Regions from separate parts of the Homo sapiens genome. Here all the other regions are linked to region 1. The links are contacts of gene promoters, found by promoter capture Hi-C in blood cells and fetal thymus (Javierre and others, 2016). All regions are on one chromosome and are shown on one strand. Each heading gives the region's core, a stretch centred on a gene start or on the middle of the fragment in contact. The rest is flanking DNA. Distances are from core to core; before and after follow the strand shown. Region 1 holds the start of MAN2B1 (mannosidase alpha class 2B member 1). Region 2 has its middle 4.9 kb from the start of ZNF69. Region 3 holds the start of ZNF878 (zinc finger protein 878). Region 4 holds the start of ZNF20 (zinc finger protein 20).

Region 1 (7,716 bases), core at 225-2,724:
GGCCCTTTCCTAGGGAACACCCTAGGCTTACCCCTCCTGCCTCCCTTCCCCTGCCTGCTGCTGGGGGAGATGCTGTCCATGTTTCTAGGGGTATTCATTTGCTTTCTCGTTGAAACCTGTTGTTAATAAAGTTTTTCACTCTGGCTGTCAGCCTCTTCTGTTCAGTGGGGTGTTCCTCCTACCTGGCGGGAAGGGCTCTAGCCCCATAGGCCTGGTGTGGGGCCCCAGTCTGGAGGCTTCTGGCTGTTCATTTGCTTACTTCATAAACCTTGTGTCTTAAGTCAGGTGCTAGGGACAAGACAGTGACTTCTGCCCTCTGGCAACTCACCAGATGGCCCTGCTGACCTAGATAATCTAGGCTTTGGTTTCCTTTTTTTTTTTTCCTTTTTAAGAAAGAAAATGGTCTTGATCTGTCATGCAGGCTGAGTGCAGTGGCACAATCTATGTTCACTGCAGCCTCAAACTCCTGGGCTCAAGCAATCCTCCCACCTCAGCCTGCCACGTAACTGGGACCACAAATGCGTGCTACCATGCCCAGTTAATTCTTGTTTTTTTTGAGACAGAGTTTTGCTCTTGTTGCCCAGGCTGGAGGGCAATGGCATGATCTTGATCTCGGCTCACTGCAACCTCCGCCTCCCAGGTTCAAGTGATTCTCCTGCCTCAGTCTCCCAAGTAGCTGGGATTACAGGCATGTGCCACCATGCCCAGCTAATTTTTGTATTTTTACATTTTGTGTAAAATTACAAATTTTGTGTTTTCAAACCCGTCTCTACAAAACAACCCATGTTGCCCAGGCTGGTCTCAAACTCCCAGGCCCAAGTGATTCACCAGCCTGGCCCTCCCAAAGTGCTGGGATTGCAGGCTTGAGCCACTGCGCCTGCCCTGGGCTTTGTTTTCTTATCAGAGAATGAACTGGTAGGAATTGGGAAAGGCATGAAAGACTCGGGGTCCTTCCCCACTTGTCAGACCCTCTTTTCTCTCCGGAACACCCAGGGATCCTTCTCAACCAGGCTGGATCCCATCCCTGGTACTCCAGGGGTATTTACCCAACGTCCCAATCCCCACAGTATAGGACTCTTCATCAGATCCTCCTCTTAGGCAAGCTAGGTCCTTCCAGGACCCTAGCGCTGAAGGTCCATGGGACGGACACCCTGGATTCCCATGGACACACTACACCGGCTAGGAAAACCCGGCCCCCTTAGGAAAAGCACTTCTGCTCCTACCGGCATTAAGAGGCATTCCGTCTTGGAATTCCGGCATTAAGAGGCATTCCGTCTTCATAGCCCGTGAGACGCCAGTGTCACCTTTAGCCCAACCAGTGCCCTGAGGGTGGCATTTTCCTACCTTCCTGTAACGACCCCCGGGATTGCCCAGGGCTACAGCCTCTCTCCCGTGAGCCTCCAGACCGCGCCCTGGCCCCGCCCCCCACCCCGATTGGCCCGGCCGGGTCTGGGGGCGGGGCGTTTGCCCGGCCTTTCCAGGGCCGGGGAACCCCAGGAGGAAGCTGCTGAGCCATGGGCGCCTACGCGCGGGCTTCGGGGGTCTGCGCTCGCGGCTGCCTGGACTCAGCAGGCCCCTGGACCATGTCCCGCGCCCTGCGGCCACCGCTCCCGCCTCTCTGCTTTTTCCTTTTGTTGCTGGCGGCTGCCGGTGCTCGGGCCGGGGGATACGAGGTGAGTGGGGCCTCCGAGCTGAAACGTACAGGAGGCAGAGTGAAACCCAGAATACAGTCTAGAGGTGTGGGTGGGTCTGTCCTGTGGGTGTCTAGTGAATGGCTGATGATATGACAGTGTGGTCTGAGTGCGTGCTTTGTGTCATTGCGAGGTCTGGCTGTGCGCATCTGAGTATAGGACTGTGTCTGATTGTACCTGCCTCCGTGTCTCCGGGATGCTTGCCTAGACTTTGTCTGCACTTAACTGTGGGATTGGAGGGGCAGGAGGTGGCAGGGGGTGAGCAGTGTATGTGTGGGGGGAGGTGCTGGCTGAGAGCTGGGACTCTGGAGTCTGCCTGAAATTCCAGCCTAGCTCTTACACTTCCTGAGTGTGTGACGTTGGGCAAGTCACCTATCCTCTCTAAGCCTCAGTGCCTTCATCTGGAAACTGGGGATAACATCACCCCACCTCCCACGGTGGCCGTCTGCTGTCGGCAAATGCTGAACAAACATCAGCTACTTCTATTATTATTTTCCCGGAGTGTGAATGAGAGCTGCCCTGTGGGGTTGTGCAAAGTGGAGTTGTATCTATGAGCACAACTATGTATGTGTGTGTCCTGCCTGGGAGGGCCTGGCCTCCTCTGCACATAGGCGAGATCAGGCCTCTCTGAGTCACTCACCTCTAGATCAAGACTTACTCTGCAGCCCCCGACCTCGGGGGTTATTGACAAGGTATGTGTGTTTGGGGTCCCTGTGCAGACATGCCCCACAGTGCAGCCGAACATGCTGAACGTGCACCTGCTGCCTCACACACATGATGACGTGGGCTGGCTCAAAACCGTGGACCAGTACTTTTATGGAAGTGAGTAGAGGATGGGGACTGGTCCCTGGGATCCCCATGGTCCCTGTAATCCCTCTGGGTCCTGGACATTAGGGTGGGGCCAGTGCTACCCTAATATCCAGGGTTTGGGCTCCTCTGTCTAGGAATAACCCCCTTGGCTCTGCTGTTCCCTGAGAGCCTTATCCCTGTTATCCACAGTCAAGAATGACATCCAGCACGCCGGTGTGCAGTACATCCTGGACTCGGTCATCTCTGCCTTGCTGGCAGATCCCACCCGTCGCTTCATTTACGTGGAGATTGCCTTCTTCTCCCGTTGGTGGCACCAGCAGACAAATGCCACACAGGAAGTCGTGCGAGACCTTGTGCGCCAGGGTGAGCCTACCCCAAGGAAGTGAAAAGAGGAAGCCCAGCCCAGCTTCTGCTTCTGCATCTCTGGTTTCTGAGATTTGTCATGCCACGTGCAAGCTGTATAACATGCGTGTCGCTCCGCCTGCCTGGACTCTCCATTTGGAGACCTCCTATACATCCCACAAAGCCCCACCTGCTGTGCATCCTCTGGGAAGCCTGCCATGCAGGGGGCCTCTTTCCCATATCTGGGAACTATGGCCTGGGAGCGACCCCTCTTGTCCTTCCGCCAGAAATGTGTACACAGGCAGGCTTTCACATTCCCAGTATCACCCACCCTACTCCCACTCCTGGCTCTGACCGCTGACCCTGACCTTGCCTGTCCTGGCACAGGGCGCCTGGAGTTCGCCAATGGTGGCTGGGTGATGAACGATGAGGCAGCCACCCACTACGGTGCCATCGTGGACCAGATGACACTTGGGCTGCGCTTTCTGGAGGACACATTTGGCAATGATGGGCGACCCCGTGTGGCCTGGCACATTGACCCCTTCGGCCACTCTCGGGAGCAGGCCTCGCTGTTTGCGCAGGTGCGACCCGGGACCTCTCTTGGGCCCACTTCTTCACTCACTCTGGCTCCTCCCTCGCCCAGTCAAACCCCGCCCTCTCCCTGCAATCTCACAAGGACCAGGCCCAGGCCTAGGCCTGTTGAAGCCCTGCCCCTTGAGTGAGCCGTAAAGCCAGTGGCTTTTGAGCTCTGGCCTCAGCCGGCTATGCCCAGCCCAGGCTGACCCAGCTCCGGCTGGCTCCGCCCTCTCCCCTAATAGGCCCCTCTTGGTGTTCTGGCCCCACCCACTAGCTCGGGTCCTGGCTCCTCCCTAAACCGGGTGGCAAGTGGATGCCTAGGCTGCCTTAAAAACAGGTTCATTACCTGTGCTCAGACCCCATCCATCCTCAGGCTGTGGAAGGGGGAACCTCATTCCTGGAGTCAGGCCTGCTCTGCGCTTTGACAGTGCTGGGGAGGTGAACCTGGGTTCTGATGTTGGACCCGCCCTCTCCCTGCTAGCCCAAGGTGGTGAGTTCTGAAACTTCCCCAAGCTTGGAAATAAGCTGGAGGCCTCTCTGTTTCAGCCCTACGTGTTTTTGTTTTTGTTTTTTGAGACAGGGTCTTGCTGTCATCCAGGCTGGAGTGCAGTGGTGCAATCCTAACTCACTATAGCCTCAATCTCCCGGATTCAAGCGATTCTCCTGTCTCAGCCCCCCTAGTAGATGAGACTACAAGAGCGCACCACTACGCCTGGCTAATTTTTAAATTTTTTGTAGACAGTCTGCCCGTGTTGTGCAGGCTGGTCTCAAAAACTCCTGGGTTTAAGTGATCCTCCTGTTTTGGCCTCCCAGAAGGCTGGGATCATAGGCAAGAGCCACCACATCGACCTAGCACTGCTTTTTAACCTGTGCTCTGACCTGCCCCTCCCAAGCAGAGGGGAGTTTGGTGGTGAGAGGGCTGGGCACTAATTCACACTGCCTTTTCCTCCCTCATCCCCAGATGGGCTTCGACGGCTTCTTCTTTGGGCGCCTTGATTATCAAGATAAGTGGGTACGGATGCAGAAGCTGGAGATGGAGCAGGTGTGGCGGGCCAGCACCAGCCTGAAGCCCCCGACCGCGGACCTCTTCACTGGTAGGGGGCTTGGTGAGGGCAGGGCCAGCCATGGTGCCACACACTCAGAAGGGCCCTGGGCTTGATATCTGCTCTGTTGTCACTGTCCTGGAATTCCTATAGTCTGGGAACAAAGGCCCTGCATTTCCTTTTGCATTGGGACACAAATTCTGAAGCCCATCCTGGGTGGGACATGGCCGGCTTTGAAACCAGGGAAGGTCTGGGTGATGGGCCACCCCTTGAACTTGGTGTGACCTGCAGGTGTGCTTCCCAATGGTTACAACCCGCCAAGGAATCTGTGCTGGGATGTGCTGTGTGTCGATCAGCCGCTGGTGGAGGACCCTCGCAGCCCCGAGTACAACGCCAAGGAGCTGGTCGATTACTTCCTAAATGTGGCCACTGCCCAGGTAACCCTGGTGTCCAGAACCTTCGAGTCCGGTATATACAATACAATGAGCTCTTTCCATGGTACAGGCATCCCCTAACACGTTCTCCTTATTTTTAATTTTTTTGAGACAGTCTTACTCTGTCACCCAGGCTGGAGTGCAGTGGTGCGATCTCGGCTCACTGCAACCTCTGCCTCCTGGGTTCAAACAAGCACATCCAGCTAATTTTTGTATTTTTGCACTGGGGTCTCATCATGTTGTCCAGGCTGGTCTCAAACTCCTGAGCTCAAGTGATCTGCTTGCCTCGGCCTCCCAAAGTGCCGGGATTACAGGCATGAGCCACCGCACCTGGCCTCTATTTTTAACATTTTTATTTATTTATTATTATTTTTTTTTTTTTGAGACAGAGTCTTGCTCTGTCACCCAGGCTGGAGTGCAGTGGCATGATCTCAGCTCACTGCAACCTCCGCCTCCCGGGTTCAAGCGATTCTCCTGCCTCAGCCTCCTAAGAAGCTGGGATTAGAGGCACCTGCCACCACACCCAGCTAATTTTTGTATTTTTAGTAGACAGGGTTTCGTCATGTTGACCAGGCTGGTCTTGACCTCAGGTGATCTGCCCGCCTCAACCTCCCAAAGTGCTGGGATTACAGGTGTGGGCCACTGTGCCTAGTCTATTTTTAACATTTTTATTGAGAATTCCTTTTTTATTTTTTTTAGACTCACTCTGTCGCCCAGGCTGGAGTGCAGTGGCACGATCTCGGCTCACTGCAACCTCCACCTACTGGGTCCAAGCGATTCTTCTGCCTCAGCCTCCCGAGTAGCTGGGATTACAGGTGCCCACCACCATGCTCGGCTAAGTTTTATGTCTTTTTAGTAGAAAGGGGGTTTCACCATATTGGCCAGGCTGGTCTCGAACTCCTAACCTTTTGACCCACAGCCTTGGCCTCTCAAAGTGCTGGGATTACAGGCGTGAGCCACCGCGTCCAGCCTTTAACATTTTTATAATTAAAAAACATTATTTTTTCACAGAGATAAGGTCTCACCATGTGGCCCAGGCTGGTCTCAAACTCCTGAACTCAAGTGATCCTCCTGCCTTGGCCTCCCAAAGTGCTAGGATATAGGTGTGAGCCACCATGCCTGGCATAACACGTTCTCCTTAAAAAAATTTTTTTTTCCTTTCTTTAAAAATTGATGGCTGGGCATGGTGGCTCACGCCTATAATCCCAGCATTTTGAGAGGCCGAGATGGGCAGATCATCTGAAGTCAGGAGTTCAAGACCAGCATAGCCAAAATGACGAAACCCTGTCTCTACTAAAAATACAAAAATTAGTCGGGTGTGGTGGCGCACGCCTGTAATCCCAGCTACTTGGGAGGCTAAGGCAAGAGAGTCGCTTGAACCTGGCAGGTGGAGGTTGCAGTGAGCCGAGATCACGTCACTTCACTCTAGCTTGGGCAGCAGAGTGAAACTCTGTCTCAAAAAAAAAATTGTTTTAGATTAATTTTTTTTTTTTTTCTTGAGACAGGGTCTTGCTGTGTGGCCCAGGTTGGTCTTAAACTCCTAGACTCAAGCGATCCTCCTGCCTCAGTCTCCTGAGTAGCTGGGATTACAGGTGTGAGCCCCTGTAATCATGTTCTCATGCCCCCTGGAGGAAGATGCTATTCTATTCACCATCACAATGTCCCCCTCCTGGATTTATGTGCATTCCTCATTAGAAGAGATAGCATAGGCTGGGCAAGAGATAGCATGGCATGGTGACTGGATGCCCTCTTCTAGGTAGTGGGTCCAAGAGAACTGCTCAACAACTGGTGGCTACTTTTATCTGTGTCCCCACGCTCCCAAGTGCCATACCCCCACCCATGCCTGTGCACCCAACATCCTTGACCCCATATACATCAAAACACAGCTATACACAGGGATGGCCCAGGATCCTCTGGCTTCAGGACTCCCCTCTTGCCTGCAGGGCCGGTATTACCGCACCAACCACACTGTGATGACCATGGGCTCGGACTTCCAATATGAGAATGCCAACATGTGGTTCAAGAACCTTGACAAGCTCATCCGGCTGGTAAATGCGCAGGTCAGTGCGCCTACCCTGTGGTACCCTTGTGCACATGTGCGCTTGCATCCGGGGGCCTTGGGTTATGTGCATAGCTCTCAGTGCTGTCTTTGTTTTCTATTGTTCTATTGTGGTCATTCTATAACAAATGACCACACACTTAGCAGCTCAAAACAACAGAAATACATTGTCTTACAGTTCTGTAGGTAAGAAGTCCAGCATGAGGCCGGGCGCAATGGCTCATGCCTGTAATCCCAGCATGTTGGGAGGCTGAGCCGGGCAGATCACGAGGTCAGGAATTCGAGACCAGCCTGACCAACATGGTGAAACGCTGTCTCTACTAAAAATACAGAAATTAGCTGGGTGTGATGGTGCGTGCCTGTAATCCCAGCTACTCGGGAGCCTGAGGCAGGGGAATCTCTTGAATCCGGGAGGCGGAGGTTGCAGTGAGCGGAGATTGTACCACTGCACTCCAGCCTGGGCCACAGAGAAAGACTCTGTCTCAAAAAAAAAAAAAAAAAAAAAAAATCCAGCCTGAGTCTCACCAGGCTATAATCAAGGTGTTGGCAAGGCTGTGTTCCTTCTGCAGTCTCTAGGAGAGAATATAATTTCCTTGCTTTTTCCAACATCTAGAAGTTACCCACATTCAAAATCTATTCTTGGCTCCATCTTCAAAGCCAGCCACATAGCATCTTTCTGACCCTGTTTCTGTAATCACATCCCTTTCTCTCATTCTCACCTCTTCTGCCTCTCTCTTCCACATTTTATTTATTTACTTAGA
Region 2 (7,716 bases), core at 3,583-6,082, 780 kb after region 1:
AATTTACTTCTGCAGAAGTGTGCCACTTGTGTCAATCAAGATCACAAGAGCACAGAGAACAAAGGTCACCGGGGGTTTTTTTATCCTTAATGCGGTCCCTATCTCTGTGTCACTCCTTCATGGGCTGGGGTTCGACCACACAATCTGAGCTGACCCGACTGGCTACTTGTACGTATTTTTCTAAATATAGAAGGAGAGGGGAACGTGAGGTACAGAGATGGAGCGTGTGAGACGTGCAGTTTCGGGGGAACAATGGGTACAGGTAACCAAGGGAACAGATGTGAGTTATTGATTAGAGCTGACGGGAAGGGGGTAGGCTGTTTTACAGTAACTAGGGGCAAGGAGGAACAGGAAAGTTGAGCTGGAGAACAAAAGACAAGGAAGTTAGCAGGCTAAGTCTTTGAAGAGAAACTCAGAGAGGCCAGGCGCGGTGGCTCACGCCTGTAATCGCAGCACTTTGGGAGGCTGAGGCGGGTAGATCACGAGGTCAGGAGATCGAGACCATCCTGGCTAACATGGTGAAACCCCGTCTCTACTAAAAAATACGAAAAATTAGCCAGTCGTGGTGGTGGGCGCCTGTAGTCCCAGCTACTCGGGAGGCTGAGGCAGGAGAATGGCATGAACCCAGGAGGCAGAGCTTGCAGTGAGCCGAGATCACGCCACTGCACTCCAGCCTGGGTGACAGAGTGAGACTCCGTCTCAAAAAAAAAAAAAAAAAGAAACTCAGAGAAATTTACTGTATGTTACAATTCCTCCCTTTTAATTTTCTTATGATTTTTTCTCTTTAAACTTTTTTAACGTGTTTTGGCTTTGCTGTTTGATTTGATCTTTTAAAAGGAAAAGCTTACTTGAATAAGGTGGAGGAGAACTAAGGGAGGTTTCAGTAAATGCTGTTCGTACAATCCTTTGTATTAGCCTACGGATGCATGGTATGACACAACGCCTAACAAGAATAAGTACACCTGTTACGACTGTAAAAGAAATAAGTATTGAGGCTATGATTCTTTATTGACTGAACTACTTTCCTAGCCATCTTGAAATAGGGTCATTGACTCCAGAAATTTTAGCTAATTCATTGGATAAAGCGGTAAGTCTTTGCAAGGCCTTTGTTATGCTCTCACTGGGGGCAGTGTTGTTTGGAATGAAGGTACAACACTGGGTTTTAATCATAACACAAACTCCACCTTTTTTGGCTAATAACATGTCTGGAGCCATTCTGGTTTTTATTTTTTGAGATGGAGTCTCACTTCGTGGCCCAGGCTGGAGTGCAGTGGCACCATATTGTCTCACTGCAAGCTCTGCCTCCCGGGTTCACGCCATTCTCCTGCCTCAGCCTCCCCAGTAGCTGGGACTACAGGTGCCCGCCACTACGCCCGGATACTTTTTTTGTATTTTTTAGTAGAGACGGGGGTTTCACCATGTTAGCCAGGATGGTCTCGATCTCCTGACCTTGTGATCCGCCCACCTTGGCCTCCCAAAGTGCTGGGATTACAGGCATGAGCCACCGCGCCCAGTCAAGTGATTCTGTTTTCTTAAGCTATTTGGCTAGTAGGCCTTAACTGGTCAGCTGTTTTTTGATAAGATCCTTGGTGTAATTCATAAACTGCTGCTAATTATAATAGATGTAATTTATCGAAGCTACATTTTTATTAATAGTTATTCGGGGAAATATGGGTTTAAATCTTGCAGTTATTTGGTCTCAGGTTTTGAACTTGTTAGGCACTCCCCATGGGACTCTAATGGCCTTTATGTAAACTTGAGAGTCAAAAGACTTATAAGGGGCTTCTCTTATTTTTTGGTGTTGTGGCTTTTCTTTTTTTTTGGTTGATGAAATGCCAGTGTGAAAGGGATCGCCAATTGGACAAGAGCGCAAGTGCCGCTCCAGTTACTTGGCAGAGTATCCAGTAAAGGTCCACTACAATACCACCATACATCTGCTTGAGGATGACTAAGGGCAGACTGATGGGTAAGTTTTTGGAAGGGCTTAAGCTTATTGCATCTTGTTAAGCTTCTAAGGAACGCCAGATTCTCCCCTCGTCGTGAGAGACATGAGGTGAAATTGACGTCAGGAGAAGGAAGCTGAATGGCCTTTGGGGGCTGGCCTGCAGGTTGTTGGACTTCGGGATATAGCAGAGAGAGAGCTTGGCATGATTTGTTGCCCCAGGCTGTGGAATTTTGGAAAAGAGCTACCATACAGCCTATGCCTGGTCGGCTGAAGGGCTATCCTAGTGGAAAGGAAACAGTCTGGGCCTCTAGTCTGCCATGCATACAAGCGTAACAATTGCTTTTGTTCAATGTGCGGACGGAATATTGAATCCATTCCAACCAGGTATTTACATCTTGATATCCTGTTTTAATTGCTAGGGTTTGTCTTAAATCTTTTACTTCTACAATATTTACTTTAGTAGTATCATTAGGTAGAAAACAGGTGGCAGTCTGATTAGAAGAAAGCTTAGAAGGAGAAGAGAAGGAAGGGGGTGAAGAGAATGAAGGATTAATAAAACGCATTTCGAAAGATCTTATGAGGTCTGTGCTGGCCAAGTTGGCTCCTGTTCCATAGAAGTGACTTAAAGTAGGTTTAGGGTCAGTAGAGGTGGAAATTTGTATGGGATTACATTGATTATACTGGCAATTGGGGAGGTGCTTTTTTTAGTGAAATGAATGTATGGTTTTAAGGATATACAGCCACCTGCTGATGAGGTCTAGCCTTGACATTTGGTTGTCCATAGGACATCATTCTAGCTATGACAGACTTGTTTTCTTATATTTGTTAAGGAACAAGAGTCTTGGTAGGGGGGGCCTTTCACCTTAAAGGGGCAGAGATACTTTTCTGAGGCTGAGACTTGTCTTTGACTTTGGAGATCTTTACAGGGTATGACTAGACATAGCATTAAACGTGATAACTTGGGGTGAGTTTGATTGAGTTACATTAATGACAAGGTGGTCAGCATTGGAAGGGGAAAAGAAGAAAGAGTAATAGAATAGATGTAAGAGGTTAAATTTTTCTTAGCTTTAGTTTGAGGGGGTTTTCCCCTGGAATAATGGCCTACGACTTTGGGGGTGGCGGTGCTTTCTTGACTCGGGTGTGATGGGTCTATCCTTTCTCTGCTGTCCAGACTGCAGTTTCAATGGTGGGAAGTACTAGGCCAGCTCCTCAGGCCGGTGTTGACGCACTGGGAACTCCAGGAGCCGCACCTGTACTGGAAAATTGTGAGTTTTGAGGGAAGAGAAAGTGGAAGATAAACCAAGTATGTAGGAATGTTGGCAGTGGATTGCTTTGAGAGGTAGTTTGGATTAATAGGAAGACAGAAGACATTTGAGTTATGGCAACTAAGTTTCTAGACTTGTTTGGCTAAGGATGTACATTTTCATACACATATAAACTTTAACTGTGCTATACATAGCTTGAGGTCTTTAATGGGTCCTCTAATTTAGGTGGGATAGGACTTCTTTCATAAGAGGTTTAAATAACATTTGAATTCCCTTCAGTGCCTACAGGAGAAACGGCAGCTGGTTCGGATTATCTGATTTGCTAGGTTATTTTCTTAACTCTTGAAAGATAGGATTTTTGGTGCCTGGGGACGTGGAAAATAGCTTTTTTTTTTTTTCTGGTAACTGAAGGTTATTTAACACTTGGGTTATTAACTCTTCATGAACAAGGCTTTGACCTTTATTATTGTCTGAAATTTTCTAAATGTATGAGCCACGATAAAGGTGTATTTAGAATCAATATAGATTAGTATAGATGGTTCCTTTGCAGTTACTTTAAAGCTTGACTAAGTGCAAACAGCTTACAAATTTGGGTAAACTATTAAACAATTTTTAAATTTTATTTCTCTAGGAACTTCTCTATTTATTATTGAACATCTGTTGAATCCTTTTTCCTTTAATCATTTTTGAAGGGGGTTTCTCTTAAGTTTGGCCGGACATTTGTATGGTAATCAGTTAAATCTAAACATGTGTGCTTCCTTTTTAGATTTGGATCTTTCGTTAAGAAACTTGTTAGGTTAAGCAAATTACTAGTAACATTAAACTATCATTTTTAACAGAATAGCCTCATATTTATACACATGTAATTCTTTTTTGGTGGTACATTTTAACATAGGTGACTTTAAAGAATCAGAGTTCTTTTCTGGTGGATATTTTCACTTTTAACACTGGCCTGACTATAATAAATGCTAGTGGATATATCCGCTGAAAGATTATCTACTTCTTGCTCAGGAAACTTAGCTGCGGGGATGCCAGGCTGCTTGGAGCCATCGCTGAAGCCCCGTATTACTTAGCCTCAGCAAAGTAAGGCAGATATCCTATAATGTAGTTTGCATGGGGCATAGGCTGGGGCCTGGCTCGCATGTCATGCAGAGCTGCCGTCAATACAGTGCCAGGACCTTGGACCAGCCAGTGGGCAGGAGCATGGGCTTTGCCGCTGCAGGGGTGCACTATGGGCCAGACAACGCTGACAACATGTTGCGGCAGATCCTTCATGTTGCTAGCCTGGCAAAAGCCATCTGGTGAATTAGGAGCTTGGAGTTCTTTAGGGGAGAGGGACTTAGGCTGGGGAAGAACAGACTTACTGGGCGATGCCTGAGGGGAAGGGTTGGGTATTAGGTGGGGAATGGTCTAGGGGATCTTGCGAGTTGTTCTTTTTGCTAGGATCCCCCAAGCCCCTTCCTTCACTGTCTTTTTCATTAAAGATGGTTCTATCTTAATAGGGCACATGTACAACTCATTTTCCTCCAAATATTAGTTTTTGACTTGCTCCTTTCAATCCTTGGAGGAGGGGAAAGGACAACTCCTTGCAACTAACATAGGGCATAATTTGTTTCTTCTCAGGAGGCAGGTCTTCTACTAGCAACATTTTCTATTAGAAGTTCACAAATCCATCCCTCATTCGACTTAAATTCTGGCCAGAAAACTAAGGGTTCAAGGATTCGTTCTTGAGTCTAAATGGAACAGCAATATTTTATCACTAATTGCTTTTTCTTATGTTTAGTCTTTTCATTATCTTTCTAATGTTTTAACATGAGACCTAGGGGACTATTAGGGGGGATATCTTTGTTGCTAACTTTGTCTTTTTTGCTTGTAATATTTCCTATACTGGGTCCTGGCTAGGCTCAATCCCTCGTGATAGGAATCTCTTGCCTAGGGGGGCTTGCTGTGGCTCAACCCCTCATATTAAGGATCTCTTGCCTATTTTGGGGGTTCCTTGTGGCTCAGCCTCTCAAATTAAGGATCTCTTGCCTATTTGGGGGGTTCCTTGTGGCTCAACCCCTCATATTAGGAGGTCTTTTGCCTATCCCTCACTGGAAGTGTGGCTAAGGCTCAATTCCACTATCCTTTAGCTCCACCTGCTGGAGGTTCCTTGCACCCTTCTTTCGCTTCATCCACTCTGGCCGCTTCCCTCGCAGGTTTGTTTCAGGTTCCTCTTAGCATTGATGGCAGGTCCGTATAAACCTGTGACAGGACCCCCGCAGGGCTGCCCTAAGCCGTGTGAGGTGACCACAGAACCGCAGATTGGACTCACTCGCTCCGCACAGCAGTAGTGCTTGTTACCATTCATGCACTTTCAACCCCCAGAATGCCCTGACACACCCCTCCGACTACCAAAGAATTACTTTGTTGCCCCTGCAACGTTTCCCACCTTGGTCTGTGCACAGAGTTTACCTGGTCGCTGCGGTATTGCAAGCCTCTCTTCCCCGCGTTGCTGAGAGTCCGGGTTTATTCGTCAAAATGGGTGGGTCTCGATCTCCTGTCCCTGAGGCCACCGCAATGGGGCAGTGGGACGCGTCTCCCCAGGGTAGGGTGACTGAAGAACTCTTCCAAAAGGAGCATGGGGATCTCGGACGATCCCCTAGAATTGTTGGATATAAAATGCTCCCGGAATAAAAGCTTGGTGCCGTGAAGTAAAACCAGCACTCAGGCAAAATTTTAATTCTCTCAGCAAGGCAATTTACTACTGCAGAAGGGTGCCACTCACGTCAATCAAGATCACAAGAGCACAGAGAACAAAGGAGACCAGGAGGTTTTTATCCTTAATGCGGTCCCTATCTCTGTGTTACTCCCCCATGGGCTGGGGTCGGACCGCACAGTCTGAGCTGACCCGATTGGCTGCTTGTACATATTTTTCTAAATATAGAAGGGGAGGGGGATGTGAGGTACAGAGGTGGAGCATGTGAGATGTGCAGTTTTGGGGGAACAATGGGTACAGGTAACCAAGGGAACAGATGTGAGTTATTGATTAGAGCTGATGGGAACGGGGTAGGCTGTTTTAAAGTAACTAGGGGCAAGGAGGAACAGGAAAGTTGAGTTTGAGAACAAAAGACGAGGAAGTTAGCAGGCTAAATCTTTAAAGAAAAACTTAAAGAAATTCACTGTATCTTACAAATCTGACCCCAGTGGCCCCATGCATGTCAAACCCCAAACCCTGCCCAGAAGACAGCCCCAGGCTCCAGAGGTACAACACCAGAAAGGACAGAACCCCCACACATACGTGTGCATGTGGGTCTTCTGCTTTCCAGGGCTCTTCAGCTTCTCGGAATCCGCACTCCTTCTGGAGCTGCTCTGAGCAATTGGAGGCCACCTGTAGGGGAGGGCGGGCTGCCCGGAAGCCCCCAGGAAAGGCTCCTTTCCCTTCCTTTGCAGGCTCCACACTGGCCTCAGCGTTGAGTCACCGGCCTCGGGCTCTGCTGCCCCCTGCAGGTTATTCAGCTACTTCTCACCCCATTGATCAGTTCCATGACACAAACACCCTCAATCCCATTGTGTGAATAAGACACCAGCAGAGTCCCTGCTCTCCTCCTATGTTTATGTATAAAGTGGGGAAGGAAAATTCTAAGATAACTTAAGTGCATTTAAAAGATTTCCAGATCGTGGTGGAGGTGGCAGCTGAGGGACGCACGTTCAGTGACACTGCAGTACCTCCGGGCCTGGCTGGTTGGAGAGAGGGTGGAGAGCTGGAGATGAATGTGGATATATGGAGGGAGCAGCCCTGGGAACCGGGCTCTGCAGCAGCGCGGCTCTAGGGCCTGGAGCCCGGGGGAGCAGAGATGATGGGGGCTCCTGGGACAGGACGCTTGGGGAGAAGAGAGTCAGGCGGTTTCCATGGGACAGGGGTGCTGTGGCAGCTGGTGTGGGCCTGTGGCTATCATAACTAAGCCCGATTGGGACGTGAAAACTTGGATTCCGTGGGAATTTATGAAGAGGAAGGCTCTGATGACAAAGAAGTCATCGATGAGGAGAGGGATTAGGGTCACTGGCAAGCTCGCCCCCTTATGGAAAGAAAAGTGAACGTTCAGCTACTGCGGCAAAATGGGGTCAAAGGATGAGACTCTCACTGTCAGGGAATAAATTGCTGCAGAACTCTTAGAGATTGCAAAGACCTTCAAACAACAGCCTGGGAGGCCGGGTGCCATGGCTCACGCCTGTAATCCCAACATTTTGGGAGGCCAAAGTGGGAGGATCGCTTGAAGCCCGAGATTGGAGACCACCCTGAGCCGTGAAGTGAGACCCTCCCATCTCCATAAAAAATTTTTAATTACCAAGGAGAAGTGTGTGTACCTACAGTCTCAGCTACTCAGGAGGCTGAGACAGGAGAGTCACTTGAACCCCAAAGTTTGAGGCTGCTGTGAGCTATAATTGGGTACTGCGCTTCAGCAAGACACTGTCTCAAAACAAACAAACAAAAAATTAAAATCCCACCAAACTCCCTGGGGAAAC
Region 3 (7,716 bases), core at 2,260-4,759, 610 kb after region 1:
TCTGGAGTTTGCAAAAGGAGGGAAAGGGGGCTCCTTTTGCAAACTCCTGGGGGCTTCCCCCGGAGCCCGCCCTCCCTTGAAGGTGGCCTCCAGCTCCAGAAGGAGTGTGGATTCTGGGAAGCTGCAGAGCCCTGGATGGCAGAAGACCCACGTGCAGATGCGCTCGGGGGTTCTGTCCTATCTGGGGTTGTACCTTTCAGAGGTACCTTCAGGCCTGGAGCTATTTTCTGGGCAGTGTTTTGGTTTTGGCATGCACAGGGTCGCTGGGGACAGACTGTAATTGATATATATGAAGCAAATCTGTGAAGGTCAGCCTCAGAGAACAAATTGTTTGGGTTGTGTTATGAACAAAGGGTTTATAAAGTTGACTTTATTTAAGTCATAATGTCAGGGGTGTTTGAAGCAGAGTGAAACCATCTTGAATAGGGGCTGGGTAAAATAAGGGTGAGACCTACTGGGCTGCATTCCCAGGTGATTAGGCGTTCTTAGTCACAGGATGAGCTAGGAGGTCGGCAGGACTGGTATCACAAGATACAGGTCATAAAGACCCCACTGATAAAACAGAATGCGCTGAAGAAACCAGCCAAAGCCCACCAAAACCAAGTTGGCGACGAAAGTGACCTCTGCCACCCTGGGCAACACAGTGATACCCCATCTCTACAAAAAATACAAAAATTAGCTGATTGTGGTGGCCTGTGGCTGTAGTCTCAGCTACTCAGGAGGCTGAGCTGGGAGGATTGCTTGAGCCTGGGAGGCAGGGGCTGCAGGAAGGCAGAGAGGCTGCAGCGAGCTATGATTGCGCTGCTGCACTCCAGCCTGGGCGAGGGAGTGAGACTCTGTCTCAAAAAAAAAAAGAAAAGAAAAGAAAGTGACCTTATGTGGTCCTCACTACTTATTATACACTAATTATAAAGCATTAACATGCTAACAAACACTCCCACAAGCGCCATGGCAGTTTACAAATACCATGGCAATATCCAGACGTTACCCTATGTGGTATAACAAGAGGTAGGAACCCTCAGTTCTGGGAATTGCCTGCCCCTTTCCCAGAACACTCATGAATAATCCACCCCTTGTTTAGCACATAATCAAGAAATAACTATAAGTATACATTGTCAGGCAGACCATGCTGCTGCTCTGTCTATGGAGTAGCCATTCTTTTGTTTCTTTACTTCTGTAATAAACTTGCTTTTACTTTATGGACTCACCCTGAATTTGTTCTTACATGAGGTCCAAGAACTCTCTTTTGGGGTCTGGATTGGTACCCCTTTCTGGTAATAAGATTAAACTGACTCCAGGTGAGAGTTTCCCGCTAATGAAAATGAAGGTGTGGAGAGGAGGGGGAGTTTCCACACTGTGAGGAGAAGATGGGTGTATGTGAGGAAACCTTGGCCATGCCTCATCCCGATTCTTGCCCCACTGCAGGAGATCTGTCTCTCCCTCCTGGAGCAGTCATACATGGCCTTGTTCCCCTCCTGCCCTGAGACAAGGGGATGGCTTTGTGGGGGTGATAGACTCTTCGTGTCCTAAAGGTTTGCTGAAAACTAATTGATCTGAGGCAGATTGATTAATAGAAAAGAAGGCATGCAAATGTATTTAACATGTATACATGGGAACCTTCAGAATGAAGACACACCCAGCTATAAGACAGAGAAGATTATATAGCGACCTGAGGTCAGTAAATTAGGTTTAGTAGCAAGACAGCTTAGTAGACTGAGAAAGGAAGAGGCTTGGCTAGAGGTGGACTGTTACGTAGATGATGTCTCCCCCAGAGAATAGACTTTTTTCCTTTTTATGAGACAAGGTCTCACTCTGTCACCTAGGCTCGAGTGTAATGGTGCAATCTCTGCTCACTACAACCTCCGTCTTCTGGGTTCAAGCAATTGTCCTGCTTCAGCCCCCCGAATAGCTGGGATCACAGGTGTGTGCCACCAAACCCAGCTCATTTTTATATTTTTGGTAGAGATGGGATTTCGTCAAGTTGGCCAGGCTGGTCTCAAACTCCTGACCTCAAGTGATCCACCCACCTCGGCCTCCCAAAGTGCTGGGATTACAGGCATGAGCCACCATGCCTGGCCCTAATCTATTTACTTATCTTTTTGGTAGAGACCTGGTCTCACTGCGCCCGGCCACTGGTTTTTTGTTTTGTTTTGTTTTGTTTTTTTGAGACACAGTCTTGCTCTGTGGCCCAGGCTGGAGTACAGTGGTGCGATCTCTGCTCACTACAAGCTCCACCTCCCGTGTTCTCGCCATTCTCCTGCCTCAGCCTCCCGAGTAGCTGGGACTACAGGCGCCCACCACCACGCCCGGCTAATTTTTTTTTTGTATTTTTAGTAGAGACGGGGTTTCACCGTATTAGCCAGGATGGTCTCGATCTCCTGACCTCGTGATCCGCCCACCTCGGTCTCCCAAAGTGCTGGGATTACAGGCGTGAGCCACTGCGCCCGGCCAGCGCCCGGCCATTTAAAAAAATTTTAAATAATAAAGACAGGGATCGGCGGGCGAGGTGGCTCACGCCTGTAATCCCAGCACTTTAGGAGGCCGAGGCGGGCGGATCACCTGAGGTCGTGAGTTCGAGACCAGCCTGACCAACATGGAGAAACCCCGTCTCTACTAAAAATACAAAATTAGCGGGGCGTGGTGGCGCATGTCTGTAATCCCAGCTATTTGGGAGGCTGGGGCAGGAGAATCGCTTGAACCTGGGAGGCGGAGGTTGCAGTGAGCCAAGATCTCGTGCCACTGTGCTCCAGCCTGGGCGACAGATCGAGACTGTCTAAAAAAAAAAAAAAAAAAGAAAGAAAGACAGGGATCTCGCTGTGTTGATGATGTTGGCCTCAAACTCCTTGCTTCAAGGGATCCTTCCGCCTCAGTTTGCCAATGTGGTGGGATTATAGACATGAGTCACCATGTGCTACCTCTCTTCAGATTTTAAAGGTGTCAAACTCTCAATAGCTTTTAGATCAGGGAAAGGAAAAGAACGGGGGAGCTGGCAGTGCTTCATTAACGGAGATTCTCTACAAATGTAAATTTCCCCCTCAAAAGACAGTTTTGCAAGGCCACCTTTTGTTTGCTGGCCAAGCAGCAGCCATTTCAAAACTGTCAAAGAAATATATTTTGGCAGGGCAATATCTTGGGGCAAAATATTTTAATGTCTTTCACATTTTGTGGACACTGAATCTGGAATTCCCTGCACACTTGTGTCCCGTGTAGGATGAAGGGGCAGGGACGGCCCACGGAGTGAGGAAGACAACAGTGTCCCTTCTAGCAGTTCGGAGCAAGTTTGGCCGAAGGCAAATATTCGAAGTAAAGGTGGGAGGGAGGGAGGGAGCTGACCTTGGAAAGTGTGGCCAGAACCAGTCGCTTCGGCTCTGCAGCGCCCAGTTACCCGGGGCTTCTGCTGTCACTCAGGGAAGGGGGCGGAGTCTAGACCCCTATCCAATCAGGGGCGCTAGGGCGGGGCCCTGCCACTGTCCTCCAGGGAAGGGGAGGTTGCATTCCCGCTCTCTTCACTCCTAGGGCTGCTCGCGCTAGTTAAGGTCTGGGGCTTTCTTGCTCCGAGAGGGACCAGTTACTTCCGCCGTAGCTGCTGTTGCTCTGTCGACTGCGCTGTGACCTGCACTGTTCACGGGACCTTTAGAGAGGACGCCAGAATACCTGGAAGCCAGGAAATGGTGAGCATGCGGTGCTGGGGAGTCCCAAGGCGAAAGGAGGGACTGGGTGGAACCGAGAGGAACCCGCTGTGGCGGGGCCCGGGCCCCCCTGCAGCGACTCTGGGCTCCAGACACAGTCCCCCTAGCGCAGCTCGGCCCTCGGTCCCCTCGGCCGCTGGGTGGAGCTGGGCCGGCAGCCGGGACCCCGGGCGTCCTGTCCGGTCCCTGCGCGGCGACTGCGGCCCCGGCCCCGGCTCCCTCTCTGAGCAGCTCCGCGCCCGCAGCCCCGCGTCTCCCCAGATTGTGCGGTGACCATGGAAGGGTCATGGGGGATCCTGCCTCGGGTGTGGGGTTCGTGTGGGAGGAGCTGTGGGCTGTGGGGTCCCCAGTTCCTTTTTTTTTCCAGTTAAAAATTAAACTGAGGCACTGTTAAAAAATGAGAGTTTATTTTAGCAAACAGCGATTAATGAATGAGAAACTCCCAGTCCTGGCTTGTGGTTTGGTAACGGAAAAACCCAAATCGTGTAGAATAAGTTTATTCTGAGCCGAATAGGAGAGACCTCGGCTGAGGGAAACACAACCCCGCGAAGTCTGGAGTAAGCAATCCCGAGGCAGCTCCTGACAGTTTGGTTTTATTCATTTCAGGGAGACAGGAATTGCAGGAAAATGATGAATCAGTGCCGGGAAGGTGTAAGTTCCTTTGGCCGAAAGGCGGGACACATGGAAGCGGGGTTAGAAGGCACAGGTGGTGGAGGGATTCTGTAGGTGGCAGTTGGTTGAGAGTGTGTAAAGCTTTGTCTAAAATTTGGAGGCTGTAGGAAGGAGGGCTGTTATCTGCCACGTTATTCCATCCCAGTCCCCGCCCCCTTCCCCAAAAGACCTGTTTTTATTTTACCAGATTTTTATATTTTTGAGACGGAGTCTCGCTCCGTCGCCCCAGGCTGAAGTGCTGTGGCGCCATCTCGGCTCACTGCAACCTCCGCCTCCCGGGTTCAAGCGATTCTCTTGCCTCAGCCTCCCGAGTAGCTGGGACTACAGGCGCCAGCCACCACGCCCGGCTAATTTTTGTATTTTTAGTAGAAACGGGTTTCACCATATTGGCCAGGCTGGTCTTGAACTCCTCCTGACTTTGTGATCCGCCCACTTCGGCCTCCCAAGGTACTGGGATTACAGGCGTGAGCCACTGCGCCCGGCCAATTTTTGTATTTTTAGTAGAGACGGGGTTTCATGATATTGGCCAGGCTGGTCTCGAACTCCTGACCTCGTGATCCACCCTCCTCGGCCTCCCAAAGTGCTGGGATTACAGTGGAATGCCCCACTGCACTCCAGCCATGGTGAAAGAATGAGACTGTCTCAAAAAAAAAAAGTTAAGCTCCTTCTTATATAGGCAAAAAACAAAGAAATTTAATTATCGCAACAATTAGTACAACTAAATTAATTGTACAATTAATTTAATACAACTAATTAGTACAACTAAATTAATTATACAATTTAGTTACAGGTTTTTTTGTTTGTTTGTTTGAGACGGAGTTTCGCTCTTGTTGCCGAGACTGGAGTGCAATGGCGCAATCTCGGCTCACTGCAACCTCCGCCTCCCCGGTTCAAGCGATTCTCCTGTATCAGATTACAGGCGTGAGCCACCGCGCCCGGCCCAGGACTTTAAAATTTTCTTTGCAAGGGGTTTTAATTTCTTTTCTTTTCTTTTTTTTTTTTTTTTTTTTTTTGAGACGGAGTCTCACTCTGTCACCCAGGCTGGAGTGCAGTGGCGCGATCTCTGCTCACTGCAAGCTCCGCCTCCCGGGTTCACGCCATTGTCCTGCCTCAGCCTCCCAAGTAGCTGGGACTACAGGCGCCCGCCACCGCGCCCGGCTAATTTTTTTGTATTTTTTAGTAGAGACGGGGTTTCACCGTGTTAGCCAGGATGGTCTCGATCTCCTGACCTCGTGATCCACCCACCTCGGCCTTCCAAAGTGCTGGGATTACAGGCGTGAGCCACCGCGCGCGGCCGGTTTTCATTTCTTTTCTTATTTAAAAAAGTGAATTTAACATTTCCAGCTTCAGAAGATGTGATGGCCATGAAGTCTTTGTGTAAGAAAAGTAAGAGGGAAGTTAGTCTATAATGAAATCAATCCTTAAGAGGGAAGGGGTCTTTCCTGACTTGCTTGTCATTTAAAATATTTTACAAAACAATATAGGTAAGAAAGAAAGCTAATCTGTAATCAGGGAATGGAAGGTTCCCTGGCTGGCTCTGTTACCGCTGCCTGTGAGGTGTCTCAACCCCAGAATGGCATTCCTTTAAACCTCAAGATAATTTAGAGTTCCAGCAGCTTAAATTTTTGAATCACCTATTTTCACATTCTGTACAGGTGAAACTTTTGGTTATGTAATCAGAGATTAATTGACCTATTGTGCCTGGTTAAGCCTAAATTTCATTTCCCTATAAATTAGTCATTAGTGATATTGTTTCCTCAGGCCACAGATTAGAAATTTATGTGAATTGGATTTGAATTTGGCTTCAGTATGCTTGTGAAGGGTCTTAGTGTTCTATAGCCAGTTCAGTTTAATTGCTTCTTATTTATTTATTTATTTACTTTTGAGACGGAGTCTCTTTCTGTCGCCCAGGCTGGAGTGCACTGGCATAATCTTGGCTCACTGCAAACTCCACCTCCCGGGTTCAATCGATTCTCCTGCTTCAGCCTCCCAAGTAGCTGGGACTACAGGTGCATGCCACCATACCTGGCTAATTTTTGTATTTTTAGTAGAGACAGGGTTTCACCATGTTGGCCAGGCTGGTCTCAAACTCCTGATCTCAGGTGATCTGCCTGCTTTGGCCTCCCACAGTGCTGGGATTACAGGCATGAGCCACCGCACCCGGCCAAAATTGGATGTTTTAAAATTGGATGCCATGTCAGTAAGAATATACTTGGGAACACCACCCAGGAAAATGAATAGTCCTTGGGCAGTTCTGGTGTGTTTCTTTGATGTCATCTAACTATGGCACACAAAGGTGGTCAAAATTTTGATTCTTTTGGTTATTCTTTTTTTTTTTGAGATGGAGTTTCGCTCTTGTTGCCCAAGCTGGAGTACAATGGCGTGAGTTCAGCTCACTGCAACCTCCACCTCCCAGGTTCAAGTGATTCTCCTGCCTCAGCCTCCCGAGTAGCTGGGATTACAGGCATGCGCCACCACACCTGGCTAATTTTTGTATTTTTAGTAGAGATGGGGTTTCACTAGGTTGGCCAAGCTGGTCTTGAACTCCTGACCTCATGCTCCACCCGCCTTGGCTTCCCAAAGTGTTGGGATTACAGGTGTGAGCCACTGTGCCCGGCCTGTTATTCTTTTTTTTTTTTTTTTTTTTTGAGAGGGAGTCTCGCTCTGTCGCTCAGGCTGGAGTGCAGTGACACCATCTCTGCTCACTACAACTTCTATCTCCTGGGTCCAAGCGATTCTCCTTCCTCAGCCTCCCAAGTAGCTGGGATTACAGGCACCTGCCACCACACCTGGCTAATTTTTGTATTTTTAGTAGAGATGGGGTTTCACCACTTTGGCTGAGCTGGTCTTGAACTCCTGACCTCAGGTGATCCACCTCCCAAAGTGCTGGAATTACAGACATGAGCCACCGCACCCAGCCTTCTTTTTGTTATTCTTTGTAGCTGTATTATCTTTTTTTTTTTTTTTTTGAGACGGAGCTGCCTCTCGCCCAGGCTGGAGTGCAGTGGCGTGATCTCGGCTCACTGCAACATCTGCCTCCTGGGTTCAAGCGATTCTCCTGCCTTAGCTTCCCGAGTAGCTGGGACTACAGGTGCATACCACCACACCCAGCTAATTTTTATATTTTTAGTAGAGATGGAGTTTCACTATATTGGCCAGGCTGGTCTCAAACTCCTGACTTTGTGATCTGCCCACCTCAGTTTCCCAAAGTGCTGAGGCACCGCGCCCAGCCTTTCTTTCTTTTCTTTTCTTTTTCTTTTCTTTTTTTTTTTTTTTGAGACAGAGTCTTGCTCTGTTGCCCAAGCTGGAGTGCAATGCACGATCTTGGCTCATTGTAATCTCTACCTCCTAGGTT
Region 4 (7,716 bases), core at 1,631-4,130, 530 kb after region 1:
TCAAAGTACTTTTTTCTTTAATGAATGTCTTAAATAAAAACTTTTTTCTAACCACAAACTTTTTTTTAAATTATTTTATTATGTAATTTTTTTTTAGAGAGTTGGTCTTGCTGTTTGGACCCGGCTGGAGTGCAGTGATATTCACAAGTGTGATCTTAGTGCATGAGAGCTTCATATTCCTGGGCTCACAATCCTTCTACCTCAGCCTGCCAAGTAGCTGTCACTACAGGTACCAGCTGCTGTGCCTGGCTTCCACCTTTTTTTTTTTTTTTTCTTTAATCAGTTCCTTTTAAAGACCAAAGAAAACCTGTCCTCTTGTGTGGCCTGAGTTGATCTATGAACATTATTCACTATGACCCAGAAAATCCCACGAAGTCGTGCATGTTAGAAGGATGAAACCCTCATGTTCACTGTAAACTGTGAAGGTGCTCAGGCCATCACAGGTATGCCTATATGAAAAGCCACCAAGTATCTGAAATATTTTCTTTTACAGAAATTATGTGTACCATTTCAGTCTTAGAAAGTGGAGTTGGTCGCTGTACGCAAGACAGACATTGGGGCTGGACTCACCATCAGTGGCCCCGAAAAGGTACTGAAATTTGCTTACAAGTGCAGAGTTATGCTGAACTTAAGGGTATAGATGTAGATTCCCTGGTTATTGAGCACATCCAGGGAAAAGGCACCCATAATGTACCACCTGACTTACAGAACTCATGGGCAGATGAACCCATCCACAAACTCCCCTGCCACATCCAGATGATGCTTAGTGAAAAGAAACACCTTGTTCCAAAAGCAGAAAAGGAGGATGCACGGAAGAAAAAGATACCCCAGAAGAAACATAAACTTAAGAGACAAACAAATTCAGCCAAAAGAAAATGCAAATAAAAGTTCAAAACAAAACAAAACAAAAAAACCTCTAAAATTCATAAAACACAAAATGACAAACTCTATTAAATATGCCCCTATGATATCTCTTAGATAAAAGTTGGCCGTAATAGAGAAAATGAAGATAGGTGTTGGTGACTGGCAGATTCTGGGTCTACGATGAATCAGAGAAGGATGGTTTTCACTTTGTTTTACATTTTTTTAATGCTTGATGTTGACTTGGTAGAAAGATGATAATAAAGAGATTCTTCTGTCTATGTGTTTCTTTTAGATTACTCATGTGGACTGAAGAAAAAAAATTAAATTTGTTAAAGAAAGTGAGTTTGATTTAGGATTGTGACTGAGGACAATAGCCTGGAAGCAGTTCTGACAGATGGCTGCTATGTAATATTTTGGTTCACAGTTTATAAGAGACATGTGGGCCCTGTGCTCTATCTTGTTTTTTCTTCAAAGCATAATTCTGGAGAGCTGGAGAGTCCCAGAGTCAGGAATGTTATAAAGTCAGGCTGGAAACCAGAAATAAGTAACATGACTAAACATTTGTGTGTTTTTTTGTTTTGTTTTGAGACAGAGTCTCGCTCTATTGCCCAGGCTGTAGTGCAGTGGTGCAATCTCGGCTCTCTGCAACCTCAGCCTCTTTGATACAAACGATTCTTCTGCCTCAGTCTCCCGAGTAGCTGGGATTACAGGTGGGCTCTACCACACCCGGCTAATTTTTGTATTTTTAGTAGAGACGGGATTTCACCATGTTGGTCACGCTGGTCTCCAACTCCTGATCTCAGGTGATCCAGCCACCTCGCCCTCCCAAAGTGCTGGGATTACAGGCTTGAGCCACAGCGCCCAGCCACTACTGCCTCACTTTCATGCAGTTAAATAATCTTGGACACTTCCTCCTCGACTTTATACATACACACTGGAGGAGAGCTTTGCTCGTGTGTTATTCTCGCAGTGGGATTGAGGATGTTTGTCTCATGGAAACTGATGAATGATGTGAGAAGCAGGTGAATAACCTGCAGGGGGCAGCAGAGACCGACGCCAGGGACGGGACGCTGAGGCTAGTATGGATCCTGCCAAGGAGTGAAGTGGAGTTCTGGGTGCTTCCTGGGCAGCCGCCCTCCCCTGCAGGTGGCTTGCAGCTGCTCAGAGCAGATCCAGAAAGAGTGTGGGTTCTGACATGCTGCAGCGCCCTGGAAAGCAGGAGACCCACGTGCAGGTGCACTTCAGGAGTTCTGTCCTTTCTGCGGCTGTACATCTGGAATCTGGGGCGGTTTTCGGGAGCAGTGTTTTGGGTTTGACATGCATAGAGTCCCTGGGGTCAGACTGTAATTTGCATATCTGAAGAAAATCCGTAAAGATCAAGTTCAGGGAAATAACTGTTTGGGACCTCTCCTGGAGAAGGGGCTTATGCAGTTGACAGTTTATTTAGGTCAGAAGCTTAAAATCACCAAGTGAGAGTTTTCTGCCGATGAAGATGAAGGTCTGGAAGGAGGGAGAGTTTCCACACTGTGAGGTGGGGTGAGATGTGTGAAAGCCTTGGCCATGTCTCATCCCTAATTCCGGGCCCCTGAAGGACAACTGCCTCTCCTTCTTGGTGCAGTCGTGCCTGGCCTGATCTGGGCTCCCCTTCCTGCTCTGAGGTCAGCACATCGCTCCATTGGACACTCAGTCTGGAATTCCCTGCACACACTTACAACCCTGTGCAGGACGAAGAAGCACTGACAGCCCATTGAATGAGGAAGAAGATAGTGCCCTGTGTAAAAATCAGGAGCAAATTTGGCTGAAAAGAAAATATCCAATGACCAGGGCTCAGGGAAGGAGTTGTCCCTTAGAGAGAAGCTGTGGCTAGAACCGATCAGTCCGGCTTTGCAGGGCTCGTTACCCAGGGCTTCTGCCGTCACTCAGTTCTGAGGGGGCGGGGCCTTGTACCTTGTCCAATCAGAAGCGCCGGGGCGGAGCCCGGCCAACGGTCCGTCCGGAAGGAGGAGGCCCATTCCAGCTTCTACTTTTGTTGCTATGCAGGTTGTTGTCGGGATACCAGATTTCCTACTCCGAGAGGCCCCGGGTCCCTCTGCCACAACTTCTGTCGCTCTGCCGCCTGCACCGTGACCCGCACTATTCACGGGAGCCCTAGAGAGGACACCGGGACACCCAGAAGCCGGGAAATGGTGAGTGTATGGGGCCGGAGTCCCCAGACGGGGGAGGGGCTGGGTGGAACCGGCCGGAAGCGGCTGTGGTGGGATCTGGGCCTCCTCGCCGCGCCTCCTGGATCTGGGACCCGAATCCCTCTGTCTCAGCTCGTCCCTGCGTCCCCTCGGCCGCAGGGTGCGGCTGGGCCGGCAGCCGGGACCCCGGGCGTCCTCCTGTTCTGTTCCTGCGCGGGCGACTGTGGGCCCCGACCCTGGAGCCCTCTCTGGGCAGCTCCGCGCCTGCAGCCCCGCGTCTCTTCAGATTTTGCGGGGACCACGGGAGGGTCATGGGGGAATCCTGCGGATTTTTTTTTCTGTTAAAGAGTTTGGGCCGGGCGCGGTGGACCATGCTTGTAATCCCAGCACTTTGGGAGGCCGAGGCTTGCGGATCACGAAGTCAGGAGATCGAGACCATCCAGGCTAACACAGTGAAACCCCGTCTCTACTAAAAATACAAAAAATTAGCCGGGCATGGTGGCATGCGCCTGTAGTCCCCGCTACTCAGGAGGCTGAAGCAGGAGAATCGCATGACCCCAGGAGACGAAGGTTGCAGTGAGCCGAGATCACGCCACTGCACTCCAACCTAGGGGACAGAGCGAGATTCCATCTCAAAAAAAAAAAAAAATTTAAAGAGTTTGAGCAAACAGCGATTCATGAGTGAGAAACGCCCAGTCATGATTTGTGGTTTTGGTACCAGAAAGTTTTAAGAAGAATTGCATTTTGTTAACGGTGGAGGGGGTCCAGGTTCTTGGCGTCTTGAACAAAGAATTGGACAAAACGCACAAAGCAAGGAAGGAATGAAGGGATTTAACACTCCACAGTGTGCAAGCGGGGCTGAGCACAGGGGCTCAAAGGCCCCGTTACAGAATTTTTGGGAGTTTAAATACCCCCTGGAGGATTCCATTGGTTACTTGGGGTATACTCTATGTAAAAGGAGAGGATGAAGTAAGGTTATAAAATCATTTACTTGGCTTACGCCCTATGGAGTAGGTATTTCCTTTCATAGCTGAAGTTTGAATAGGCCTTATGTTCCCTGCGTCCAGACCCTATTTTCCTGCCTCAATTTGAGTTTGATTTTGGTGTCCTTAGGTAGTTTCTTATAGCACTAAACACACTTCAGTCTAATTGCTGCTGCTTTAAATTTTTTCACACTGTCTATAGGGACTGGCTTCCTCCTGCATTTTCCTAATGTATGGGTCTCAAATCCTCCACCCTGCTACCCCGCCCTAACTCTTCAGCAGTTTGCAGTAACATCTTAAATTTTCAATTACTTTTCCGCATCTCCAAACATTAACTCCCCTTCTCCAACTCACAGTATTATCAACTTTCTTTTTTTTTTGAGACGGAGTTTCGCTCTTGTTGCCCAGGCTGGAATGCAATGGCATGATCTTGGCTCATTGCAACCTCTGCCTCCCGGGTTCAAGTGATTCTCCTGCCTCAGCCTCCTGTATCAACTTTCTTTATTGTAGAGTATATTTCTTCATCCTTTCTTTCACATAGATGCAGTATTTTAGTGGTTTATCATCTTTTCACAAGGTCATGGATAACTTTTTTTAAAATATTTGTGTTCTGTTTCTGAACATTTCACATAGAATAGAGAATAACCACTTGATACTCCAGTGAAAAACCTCTGTTCCTCTCCTCTTATCTTCGTAAGGCACAGACACCATCTCAGAATGTCTTTGGGTTGTTTCCTTTTTTTTTTTTTTTTTTGAGAGAAAGTCTCTCTTTGTAACCCAGGCTGAATTGAAGTGGCGTGGTCTTGGCTCACTGCAACCTCCGCCTCCCAGGTTCAGGTGATTCTCCTGCCCTCAGTCTCCCGAGTAGCTGGGTTTACAGGTATGCGCCACCATACCCCATGTATTTTAAGTAGAGATGGGGTTTCACCATGTTGGTCAGGCTGGTCTCGAACTCCTGAGCTCAAATGATCTGCCTGCCTCAGCCTCCCAAAGTGCTGGAATTTTACAGGCGTGAGCCACCGTGCCTGGCCTGTTTCCTTTTTGAAAACTTTACAGGGTGATGTGTCTTCAGGAGTCCCAATCTATCTTTTCCTGGTCCTGGGTTTCAGAACCGCCTGGGGCTGAACCAAAATGCCCACAGCTCCCATCTCTCCTGGCCTACTGAATATCAGCCCCTGTGTCAGTCCTCCCAGAGGATAGCCTGAGGCAGGGTGTGGGATCTCCCAAAGGAGCAACTGAATTTCCCAAATGGGAGGAGACTCCTGGTACACTCTTCATCTAGATAGCCAACCCCTTGGGATGCTCAGTTTTTCTCCCCCAGTCCCAGCTTCCATTATTTGGAGACACATAGCTGGTCAGCCAGTTGGATGTTGCTATTAAGGGAAAGGTGTAGGTGAAGTGAGCCACAGCAGAGTCATCTCAACAAAGCCATAAAGCCATGACATAACAGTGCATTATCACATCCCAGACAGATGAGGGCAGCACACCTTGCAGGGCAACACAGAGTGGGGGGAACATCCAGGATGCACATTCAACCAGCAGGTGGGGAGAAAGACAGACAGGGACTTTTGGGCCAGAGTTTTTCTTGGGGTCCAGGGCAATGCCCAAGGAGGTTTCTCTTAGGGAGTTGTTTCTGATAGATTTGGAGCAAGCAGGTGCTAGTTCTGTGAAGTCAGGCTGTGATTAACAGGTGGTCTGTGCCATCCACGTGGGTATAAGGGTCAGTGGGGCAAGTCAAGTTGGTCTGTCTAGCTTTTCCACAGTGAGGTCGTCACCAGGAGGCAGCTGTGTAAGTCACATATGTGGGTTGAGCACATGCAGGAACTGGGAGGAGGTGGATAACTGGAAACTGTTGAGGTCAAGTGCAGCTTTCTTCTTCTTCTTTTTTTTTTTTTTTTCTGAGACAGTCTCTTTCTGTCGCCCAGGCTGGAGTGAAGTGGCGCTCTCTCAGCTCACTGCAACCGCCGCTTCCCGAGTTCAAGCGATTCTCCTGCCTCAGCCTCCCGAGTAGCTGGGATTACAGGCACGCACACACCCGGCTAATTTTTGTGTTTTTTAGTAGAGAGGGAGTTTCACCATGTTGGCCAGACTGGTCTTGAACTCCTCACCTGAAGTGATTGGCCTGCCTTGGCCTCCCAAAGTGCTGGGATTACAGGCATGAGCCACTACACACGGCTTGAGTACGGGTTTCTTCTGTTATAAGAAAGTGAAACCCATAATGAAAATGCATGGTAAGGTAACATAAGAAGTCACGGTAACAGGCAACTCTAGAATTAATTCATATGGAGATGATGGGCTTCAAAGATTGTTTGTTCTCCTGTAGGTAACCATCTGTCCCTGTTCCTTCTGGTAAGTGAGGACCACTTGCATAATTGGCTGGTGATACCTGCTTTGTCGTGGTTTCACTATTTTCAGAATCTGCTGTTTTCCATTAGTCTATCTTTCCATCTGTTAATACCATTTTCTCTTGATTAGTATAGATTTTATTTATTTTATTTTATTTTATTTTTTCGAGACGGAGTTTCACTCTTGTTGCCCAGGCTGGAGTGCAATGGTGCAATCTCAGCTCACCGCAATCTCTGCCTCCCGGGTTCAAGTGATTCTCCTGCCTCAGCCTCCCAAGTAGCTGGGATTACAGGCATGTGCCAACATGCCCAGCTAATTGTGTATTTTTTTTTTTAATAGAGACAGGGTTTCTCCATGTTGGTCAGGCTGGTTTCGAACTCCCGACCTCAGGTGATCCGCCCACCTTGGCCTCCCAAAGTGCTGGGATTATAGGCATGAGCCACTGCGCCTGGCCTATTTATTTTATTATTATTTTTTTGAGATGGAGTATTGCTTTGTCGCCCAGGCCGGAGTGCAGTGACGCGATCTCGGCCCACTGTAACCTCTACCTCCTGGGTTCAAGTAATTCTCCTACCTCAGCCTCCCGAGTAGCTGGGACTACAGGCACCCACCACCACGCCTGGCTGATTTTTATATTTTTAGTAGGGACGGGTTTCTCCATGTTGGCCAGGCTGGTCTCAAACTCCTGACCTCAAGTGATCTGCCTGCCTCAGCCTCCCAAAGTGCTGGGATTACAGGCGTGAGCCACCGCGACTGGCCAAAGACCCTCTCTCTTAACAAAAAAAGGGTTGGTTTGTGGGAGGACGTGAGTATAGACAGAAAGTAAGAGGTGTGATGACCAAGTCATGGGATAAATGTTTGGAGTCCACAGTATCATGAGAACTTCTTAGGAATAAAGTATAGGCCTCCAGGGCTGTTAGTCTTACCTGTCCTCTTTTATATATGTGAGATGTTTCAGGATTCAGTGGCCTTTGAGGATGTGGCTGTCAGCTTCACCCAGGAGGAGTGGGCTTTGCTGGATCCTTCCCAGAAGAATCTCTACAGGGATGTGATGCAGGAAACCTTCAAGAACCTGACCTCTGTAGGTAAGAATGACAATATTACTTCCCAGTGAATTAGAGAACAAATGCTTCTAGCTCATCAATGCTGTTCATTGATTTGGAACATGGACAAAAAATACTTTGATGAATAAATCAGGCATGGCTACCATGTACCATGAATACAGAATCTAATGATTTTTAAATAAATTCATACTAATTCTGGATCTGTGTTTTCTCCGGGTCTGTGTTTTAGGAAAAACATGGAAAGTTCAGAACATTGAAGATGAGTACAAAAATCCC

Evidence for each region. Contacts are between HindIII fragments. The CHiCAGO score rates a contact against its expected background, and 5 or more counts as called.
Region 2: a contact is called between a fragment that was not itself captured here and the fragment with the promoter of MAN2B1 in region 1, in 7 of 17 cell types (naive B cells, erythroblasts, total CD4 T cells and 4 more). The highest score is 7.9, in naive B cells.
Region 3: a contact is called between the fragment with the promoter of ZNF878 here and the fragment with the promoter of MAN2B1 in region 1, in 1 of 17 cell types (monocytes). The highest score is 5.4, in monocytes.
Region 4: the fragment with the promoter of ZNF20 here is called in contact with the fragment with the promoter of MAN2B1 in region 1 in 8 of 17 cell types (erythroblasts, fetal thymus, naive CD8 T cells and 5 more); the score reaches 11.3 in erythroblasts.

Annotation. Positions count from the first base shown.
Region 1 is chr19:12,660,500-12,668,215 of GRCh38, reverse strand. It overlaps MAN2B1 (mannosidase alpha class 2B member 1), which reads left to right and starts at 1,474. Exons shown (of 24, transcript NM_000528.4): 1 at 1,474-1,673; 2 at 2,411-2,513; 3 at 2,691-2,864; 4 at 3,231-3,424; 5 at 4,381-4,513; 6 at 4,754-4,899; 7 at 6,840-6,956. The coding sequence starts at 1,515. WDR83 (WD repeat domain 83) reads right to left here and starts at 1,409. Exons shown (of 11, transcript NM_001099737.3): 1 at 1,224-1,409. WDR83OS (WD repeat domain 83 opposite strand) reads left to right here. Exons shown (of 4, transcript NM_016145.4): 4 at 1-143. RefSeq lists a silencer at 1,332-1,611 and enhancers at 1,862-1,991, 2,012-2,141, 2,202-2,251, 2,792-2,841, 1,908-2,855 and 2 more. The HindIII fragment of the contact is 17,009 bases long and covers 1-3,934 here.
Region 2 is chr19:11,879,030-11,886,745 of GRCh38, reverse strand. No RefSeq gene overlaps it. Among named protein-coding and RNA genes, the nearest start is that of ZNF69, 4.9 kb to the left of the region's middle. RefSeq lists an enhancer at 5,246-5,425. The HindIII fragment of the contact is 2,118 bases long and covers 3,774-5,891 here.
Region 3 is chr19:12,048,754-12,056,469 of GRCh38, reverse strand. It overlaps ZNF878 (zinc finger protein 878), which reads left to right and starts at 3,509. Exons shown (of 4, transcript NM_001080404.3): 1 at 3,509-3,671. The coding sequence starts at 3,669. RefSeq lists an enhancer at 3,170-3,675 and a silencer at 3,864-3,913. The HindIII fragment of the contact is 8,690 bases long and covers 1-4,444 here.
Region 4 is chr19:12,135,514-12,143,229 of GRCh38, reverse strand. It overlaps ZNF20 (zinc finger protein 20), which reads left to right and starts at 2,880. Exons shown (of 4, transcript NM_021143.4): 1 at 2,880-3,050; 2 at 7,326-7,461; 3 at 7,670-7,716. The coding sequence starts at 3,048. ZNF625-ZNF20 (ZNF625-ZNF20 readthrough (NMD candidate)) reads left to right here. Exons shown (of 8, transcript NR_037802.1): 4 at 515-589; 5 at 2,905-3,050; 6 at 7,326-7,461; 7 at 7,670-7,716. It also overlaps the pseudogene RPL17P47. RefSeq lists silencers at 3,094-3,303, 5,009-5,111. The HindIII fragment of the contact is 6,979 bases long and covers 2,322-7,716 here.